Regions from separate parts of the Homo sapiens genome. Here all the other regions are linked to region 2. The links are contacts of gene promoters, found by promoter capture Hi-C in human tissues and cell types (Jung and others, 2019). All regions are on one chromosome and are shown on one strand. Each heading gives the region's core, a stretch centred on a gene start or on the middle of the fragment in contact. The rest is flanking DNA. Distances are from core to core; before and after follow the strand shown.

What was found. Contacts are between HindIII fragments. The study calls those that stand out against the background at their distance.
Region 1: a contact is called between a fragment that was not itself captured here and the fragment with the promoter of FFAR4 in region 2, in 3 of the 25 tissues and cell types used here (H1 embryonic stem cells, IMR-90 fibroblasts and spleen).
Region 3: a fragment that was not itself captured here is called in contact with the fragment with the promoter of FFAR4 in region 2 in 2 of the 25 tissues and cell types used here (heart right ventricle and pancreas).

The regions. Positions count from the first base shown.
Region 1 is chr10:93,750,207-93,753,039 of GRCh38, reverse strand. The region is part of intron 1 of LOC101927013 (a long non-coding RNA gene); the gene reads left to right. Among named protein-coding and RNA genes, the nearest start is that of LGI1, 6.3 kb to the left of the region's middle. The HindIII fragment of the contact is 5,661 bases long and covers 1-2,833 here.
Region 2 is chr10:93,565,412-93,568,225 of GRCh38, reverse strand. FFAR4 (free fatty acid receptor 4) reads right to left here and starts at 1,561. Exons shown (of 3, transcript NM_001195755.2): 1 at 939-1,561. The coding sequence starts at 1,505. RefSeq lists an enhancer at 1,321-2,159. The HindIII fragment of the contact is 11,697 bases long and covers 1-2,814 here.
Region 3 is chr10:93,409,950-93,412,679 of GRCh38, reverse strand. The region is part of intron 5 of MYOF (myoferlin); the gene reads left to right. Among named protein-coding and RNA genes, the nearest start is that of MYOF, 71 kb to the left of the region's middle. The HindIII fragment of the contact is 3,899 bases long and covers 1-2,730 here.

The DNA.
Region 1 (2,833 bases), core at 237-2,736, 180 kb before region 2:
ATTAGGACTCTTTGGTAGCAAGTGACAGACACTGACTCTGCCAACATAAGTGTAAAAGGACCTTGTTGCCATGGTGATTGAGTGACTCACAGAATCCAAGGAAGGGTTGACCAAGCAGGATTTAGAATGAAGGAACTTGTGAAAGCTTGGGAATCTATGTGGCAGGAGCTAATGGATGATGCCCTCTGGCAAATTCAGTCCAACCTGTTCTTATCCTTATGTTCCTCCCCAAAAGATGAGTATGGTGGACTGATCTTGGGTCAGGCACCCCTGCCCATTGCCCTGGGAAAGTGGGGCACCTTGACTGGCAATCTCACCAAGAGTGCACATGGTGGGAGAGAGGTGGTTCCACAAAAGCAAGTTGGGTACTGCTGTCAGAGCAGAGAGAACAGGCTGGGCAGGTGAAATCCAGCGATGCTCATTTGGGTAGGAGTGCTGGGCTCTGATAGCTAATATCATTGGCCCTTGCCCCTAACTCAACCTTATGGTTTTAAAGAGAAATGACCAGAAGACAATTTAGACAAATAGATATGAATACTTTCTCCAAGGACAGCTAAACTCGCATGTTCTAACTGTGGAATCAGGGGATTTTCACCTTTTATAGTCCATGAGAATAGAACTTGGGCCAAGAAAGGGGTTGAGAAGTAATAATAATGAAAGCTGACTCTTATAAAATGCGTATTATGTGCCAGCTGCCATTCTAAAGCACTTTACCCATATTAACTCACTTAATCCTCATAACAATCCCATGGGCTAGATAGATATTACTATTATTTCCCCTATATTAGCAGAAAAGGAAACAGAGGGTCAGGAGGTTAAGTCGTGTGCCCAGGGTCCTGTAGCTAGTGAAAGGTGGTGCTGGTATCGAAATTAGGTGTCCTGGCTCTGATGTCCACAGCATTAGCCACTGCTGGACACTGCCTCTCTGATGGGCTGTGTGGAATGAGGGATACCGTGAGCTGCTTCGGAGCTGGTAGCACCTCACTGGCTGGGCGCTACTATTGTACTACAATTCCCAGCATGCAACTGGGCTGGCTATCATCTTAACCCCTTCTTCACCAAAAGTTCCTCACTGTCTTGGGTAAAATCTTTTTTATTGGCAAAATCTGATCTCCCTCATGGATAATTATGCAATTGAGGCATAAATGTAGATATAAGTGGCAGCAGATAGGGGAGAGGGTAAGATTCTAAGTTAAAGTACCCTCCACATTTTTTAGTATTTGAAGGAAGACATTGGAGATTACTATGGGAAAGATTTTTTAACTTAGAAATGTGTACTATGAAAACGTCGATGGGGATGTTTTAAAGCACCCATTCTCAAAGTTGGCTACACTTTCGAATCACCTGGGGAATTAAAAAAAATACTTAAAGTTTGGGTCACATTCCTAGAGGTTCTGATTTAATTGGTCTAGGGTATGGCTGTTAAAAGCTCCCTATGAAATTCTAGAGAGTTCCCCATGGGTATAAAACAGGAGGCACAGCTTGTCATGCAGTGGGGGCATATGGGGAAGCATCAGGGCTGGTCAGGGGCCCGAGGGAGCAAGGGGAAAATGCAGACAAGAGCCTTTATTGTGATTTCTGCAGGAATGGTAATGCAAGACAGGGTAAACAGGCTCAGGATTGGCTCCTTTGAATAAGTTCAGTGAACTTTGGGGCACAGGGACTGTCCCTAGTTGTCTGTTACTGGCCCTGGGGTGATTAGAGTAGGTGGATGGTGGCCCCGAGAGACGGCCCAATAAAGGAAGTGATTGGGGGTATGGATACTGGATCGGTTGGTTTGCATAGGAAAGGTGCGCCCTCCCACGTGAGTCATTTACTGTTTCTCGGAATTGGCTAACCCTGGGAGTGGCAGTCCCTCCAGGGTCATCAGCACAGCCCCAGGTGTCAAAGCATCAGGATACAGAAAATTTAAAAACATGTTGAATGTATCCTTCCACTCTTCAGCAGAAAGCAGCTGACCGGGCTTAAAGAGAACTGGGAAGAGCTTGAAGCCTGGGGAACCATCCCATTAGGAATGGTGGTCTGCAGGGAAGGAAGCAGGAGGGCTAGTGAAACAAGGAGAATTTCAGCCATGGCTCTATTTAGTTTATCAAGATTCCAAACCTGTCACGGAATGACACCCAAGCGAATGGGAAGAAAGGCGGCAAGTTCTGCCTTTAAAAGCCTCCTTGTAGAGACCTCCGCACTCCCATGTTTACTGCAGCACTATTCGCAATAATCAAGATATGGAATCAAGTTAGATGTCCAACAACAGATGAATAGATAGAGAAAATGTAGCATATACACACCATGGAATACTATTTAGCCATTAAAAAACAGTGAAATCCTGCCATTCATGGCAACATGGATGTTGGAACTGGAGGACGTTATGTTAACGGAAATAAGCCAAAAACAGAGAGTTAAACACCACATGTTCTCATTCATACGTGGAAGCTTAAAAAAGTTGATCTCATAGGAGTAAAAAGTAGAACAGAGGATACTAGAGGCTGGGAAGGGTAGGGGGAGGTGGAGGGCATACAGAAAGTTTTGTTAAAGGACATAAAATTACAACTAGATAGGAGGAATAAGTTCTAGCGTTCTATACCACTGTAGAATGACAATAGTTAACAATAATAGAGTTTCAAATAGCTAGAAAGAGGATATTGAATGTTCCCAACACAAAGAAATGATAAATATCTGAGATGATGGATATGCTGATTACCCTGATGTATCAAAACATCGCTATGTGCCCCATGCATATGTACACTTATTATTTGTCAATTAAAAAATAAATATTTAAGAAAGCCTCCTTGAAGGCAGTACCCACAATTTATTTATCTTTTTATGCCCTTGA
Region 2 (2,814 bases), core at 312-2,811:
TCCGCGTCTAGATTCCCTCTTCCGTGTGGATCCCGGCGCACGAACCCTGCAACCACCGGGCAAAGCGGCAAGAGAAAAAGACCCGAGCTCGGGATTCCGGACCGCGGGACTTGAGGGGAACAGAGCCAATGTCCTGCACTATCCGCAGAACCTTATTCCGATCATGGTCACTCCCACCCCTATGAGCTAATAATGACAACTATTGACCCGCTATGTAAAACAGAGCTCGTCGGTCCAGCCTCTGTAATCTGCACATTTCAGGCGCCCAGGACACCTCGAAGGTCTAGTGTAATCCTTCCGTTTTGCAGCTGAAAAAACTGAAGACCCCGGAAGGGAATTCTGTCACAAGTCCCCTAAAGACAGCATTGCATCTGGGGTCCCCGGGTCTCACATGCCTGTCCGCGCGCTTTCAAAGCAGGACCATAACCCAACCCTGGACAGGAGCCCAACTCCTCCTTGAATTACGGGTAAACTTCTGGAAGGAGCCCATCTCCTCCTCGAATTACGGATAAAATACTCTGGGCAAGTTATTATACACTTCGGTGTGCCTCTGGTTCTCATCTGTGAAATGGGTGTGATAATAACAGTATTGTAGCACCTGGCGAGGAATCATGATTCAATACAAAGTGTTTGGCCACCCTGCACCCCCAAAGTTCCGTCTCGCTCCTAAACTACTCGTTAATTAACCTCGCAACAGTCATTGCATTTTGCAAGAATTTGGGGGACTCCACTTACATCATTTAGGAGGGCGTGTGCACAGCGTTGTAGTGAGATTTAAGAGATTAAACTTCACAGCCATGGGCACAAGATTTGGCACAACGATTAAGTGCAATAAATGGCTATTGTTGTTCTTGATCATCCTCATCCCAGCTTCCGTCGGGGCCCCGCTTCCCAGCCTGCGCAGGACACCTGCCCGGCACACACAGAGGGGCGCTCACCTGGTCGGCGCCGGGGAGCCGTTGCGGGACGACTCGGAAGAAGACGCAGAGAGGCAGAGCGGCGACCGCCGAATAGCCCCAGATGAGCGCCAGCAGCACTGCCCGCGCCCGCCGCCCAGGACCCCGCACGCCGCGCTGCAGGTGCACGATGCACACCATGCGCTCCAGGCTGACCGCGGCCAGCGTGAGGATGGTGACGCTGCCGCTCAGGGTCATCACGTAGAAGAGCAGGTGGCAGGCAACGGGGCCCAGCAGCCAGGCCTCAGTCCAGCGCACGGCCAGCACCAGAGGGATAGCGCTGATGAAGAGCAGGTCCGCGCAGAAGAGGTTGAGTACCAGGCAGGCAGTCGCGCCGCGGCGTCGTCGGCGCGCCACCAGCACCAGGGCGCACACGTTGCCCAGCAGCGACACTGCAAAGATGAGCACCAGCACGGTTGTCTCCACCGCGGCCAGCACCAGCCGGTGGTCGCCCTTGACGTCGGAGAAGAAGGGAAAGCGGGTGCGGTTGGCTTGCTCCAGGCTGCGCAAGGGCGCGTCGCCCGCTGCCCGCGCGCATTCAGGGGACATTCCCGGCGCCTGGCGGCCCGCAGCGGTCTGAGAGAGTGCTCATCTGGGAGGCGACTGAGTGCCAAGGCGGGGAAAGAGGGAGGGAGGCGGTTGCGACATCTCGCCTCTGGCCCCCTCCCTTCTGAGGAGCGCCAGCACTGGGTGCAGGGAGCTGCACCCGGGGCGCGCGGGAACCAGGAAGTGCCCGGCAACACTGGCCGCGAACACCGCAGCTGGCCGGGGAGGTGGCGGCCAAGGCGGAAGCCTCGTGCCCTCTGGCCCTTTGAAAGTGTATCCAGAAGCCAGAAAACTCACTTAGCGAATTCCTCGAGCCCCCGCAGGGCCTGCCCAACCTCCTTTATTTTTCAGGGACACTGGATGTGCGAAGCCTTTTGTGAACGGATTTAGCTAAAATTGATTTAAAAGGGTCAGAGCTGGCCTTTGGAGATTATTTTGGCCTGTGTCGTTCAGGCTTTACTAAAGAAACTCCATGGGTCTGGAGGTAGATCCTAAAACAACTTGTAATGAGTCCATATTTTTTGTGGGGGAGAGAGGGAGTGGAGATCTTTTATCACTACTTAATAACAGGTCTTTAGGTGGATTATCTACTCCCTCTACCCCAGATTTTTAATCTATAAAATGGGAATAATAATACCCCATTAGGTTATTGTGAGGCTCACCTAGAGTTTTGCACACTTGGCACACAGTAATTACTCGTTAAATGTTATCAAATATTAGTTATTGTAACTAAAATGCATATACATTTTGCATTCTGAACAATGACATAAATGCTTTCTTATAAAAAGAGTGAGTCCTTCCAAAATTTTTAATAAACTTGCCATCCAAGGAAGACAGATATTTCAAGGCTGGCAGATTCACACACAAGCTATGAATGTGCCCCAGGTGCCACAGTTTGAGGAGCACTGGGCAATCCAGTCCCGTTAGAGATAAGGAAACTGAGGCCCAGCCAGAGTGACTTGTCTAAGCTGTCCTCTGGTTAGTAATGAAAGCCAGTCACCTGTCCCCGTCCCACACATTTCCATCACACCACTGCAGTCTCGTTTTCTGTAAATGAGGAAGCTGGAGATGGAAAAGTATGCCTGTGGCCTAAGATCCAGTGGCCACTTCCCCAACCAGCCACCCTCCTGCCACCCACACCTTCACCCCCTCTTCCCTCTGCCATATTACCAGGCCTCTCCCAGTTGCCCACTCTGTCTTCTAATTGTCTTTCTTAAGGTTGGGTCTTAAGAAATCTAAGCACTGACTGGGCACAGTGGCTCATGCTTGTAATCTCAGCACTTTGGGAGGCCAAGGCGGGTGGATCACTTGA
Region 3 (2,730 bases), core at 118-2,617, 160 kb after region 2:
AACAAAGAAGCAAAGGCAAGCTCCTTGCTTCTGAAATGCCTGGGAGTAGGGGAAGCCTATGGGTTGACAAGCAGGTGCAAGACTATGTGGTGAGGACTAGAAAGAACAATGTGTGGCGGGTAGGAGAGAGCGGGACTAACTCCATCTGGAAGAGGTGGGGAGGGCATGTTGGAAGACAGTAAGTTTCATCTGAAACTTAAGAAGGAGAGGAACTTACCTGGTAGAGAGTAGGATGAAGAAGATTCCAAGAGCTTGGATCCAGGTGCCCTAAGAGAGACAGCAGGTAAGCCCTTCTTTTGAAGTCTCTTCAAGAATAGGCAAGAGGAGGTCCAGATCATCTTGCAGAGGACAAAGATTCCTTATCTTTGACTTCCATGAGGTTTTCCCAGTAGCCTGAAAAAGATGTTGAGGTACTAGGAGCATAACATGTCCTTCACCTACAGCCTGGTTTTAAACCCAGTTTTATACCAGAGAGGCAGTGTGAAAACTTGGTCCTGGTTTTAGCTCAGCTTCTAATAACTTAACCACAGGCAAGTTGCCTTAGCTTTCTGGACCTCAGTTTTTCTGTCTGTAAAATGGGGTGAAGGGTAGGTTGGATCAAGGATCTCTAAGGTCCCTTCTAGGACAACATTCTGTGGGTCCATGGCTACTTGAAGGAAGTGTGAAGTGAGGATCTACAGAGTGTTGAGTCAAAGGATCAGAGGACAGAGTAGGGAGTCACACTCAGTGAGTAGGAGACAAAAACAGGGGCCCACAGAAGAACCTGAAAAAGCAGATCGGGGGAGGAGAGCTGCAATGATCTAAAAATATGTATATGAGCACTGGTGTCCAAGGCTGTGGAAGATCCAATATGGAGATACAGAAAAGGGCACGGAGCTTGGCAAAGAGAGGTGATTGACTTTTGAAGAACAGAAGCCAGGCTAGGATGGGCGAAGCATGAATGAATGGATGATGAGGAGCAGGGCCCACCCTGGGCTAAATTGCAAAGCAGTGCATGTGGAGGCCCCCTTTTCCCTTGTGGCTGCCTCTTCCTCACTTTGGGACCCCTGCCTGCTGTGCTGCCCATGGACTGCTCCAGTGCCCCATCCCCACACCCCCCATAGCTGGTTCCAGGAAGTGTCCTGTGCTCCAGAAGAAGCCCCTTCCAATTGCAGTGGTCTGAATGGTTGTGTCCCTCCACAATTCACACATTGAAATCCTAACCCTGAACGTGATGATATTAGGCAGTGAGGCCTTTAGGGAGGTGATTAGGTCACGGGGCCAGAGCCCTCATGCATGGGATTAGTGCCGTGATCAAAATGGGCTCAAGGGAGCTCCTTTGCTTCTTCCATCATGGGAGGCAGAGAAGGCTCCAACTGCAAACCAAGAAGTGGGCCCTCACCAGACACTGAATCCGCCGGTGCCTTGATCTTGGACTTCCCCACCTCCAGAACTGTGAGAAATAAATTTCTGTTTTCTAAAAGCCACCCAGGTTGTGGTATTTTGTTATAGCAGCCCAAGCAGGTGAAGACACCAACCAAAACTGATTACACAGCAAAACTAAAAAATAAACAGTTAATTTATTGGGTGCTTCTGTATGCCAGATACTGTGCTAAAGGCTTCGCCTATAGATAATTACACCTTTACAGTAACCCTGTGGTAAATACTATTATTTTCCCCTCTTTACAAATGAAGAAACTGAAGCTTAGAGAAATTAAGAAACTTACTCAGACTCACATAGCTCGAAAGTGGAGGGTGGGGAGTGGATTGAGCCTAGGCCACGTGGCTTCAGAGCCCAAGATTTCAAGAGCTATGCTACATAGTAATCTGATGAAACTCATTCATACCAGGATGTGAATGACTGACAGGTGACTGTCCTTGGAAATTAAATCTCTTTCATAATCTTGCATCGTAGAGAAGGAGTTTCAGAATCCAAAAGCAGGGTTCTAGACAGGGTGGCTTGTCTTCTAGGCTCTCTTAGATTATATTGTACAGATTACCAGAAGTTCTAACTCTTTGTGTATTAAGAAAAGAAAAGCTAAAGTTTGTCAGCGAGTTTCAAAGAGCTCGTGAATAAAAGAAAGAGGAGAGGTAGTAGGCAGAGTTGATTTTTGGTTTTTGGTTTTGTAGGGAGAGAAAGATCTGTGTCTACTTGAAGGCAGAGGAAAAGCTGCAATAGAGACGGAACCCCCAGAGGTACACAAGAGAGAGGAGACATTTGGGGAGCCTGAAAATAATCAGGAGGTAGTAGGATCTGCAAATATTCAGGAGGTAGCAGGATCTAATGCATGGCAGAGGGTTGAGATTTTCACTCTGCTGAGCAGGGTAAACCTTTTCCTGAGTGCAGAGGGAAGGTAGAGGGATAAAGGAGGGGACACGTGTGTGTTAAAGTGACAAACCAGGAGGAGGAAGGAAGAGCAAGATGATCACCTTGGTGCTTGGCAAGAAAATGAGGAGAGTTTCTCTTCTGCCATTAGGGTGGAAAGAGCAGTTGTGAATTAGGAGGCTCAAGCAGGAAACAGTACAAATAGATCACGAGCAGATCTCTAGAGAGAAGATCTGCAGTGGGAGGGATGGAGTTGAAGCTTGTCATTGCAAGACTGCAGTGTTCCGTGATGTTTCTTCCTTTTTCCATCCTAACACTAATGAGAACTCAGCAATCCCTGGCTGGGTCCAACGGTGCCATCTCCTCTCATTGTCCCTGTGATCTCTGCCATTCTCTTGGTCTCTTCGAAGGCAACCTGAGCAACA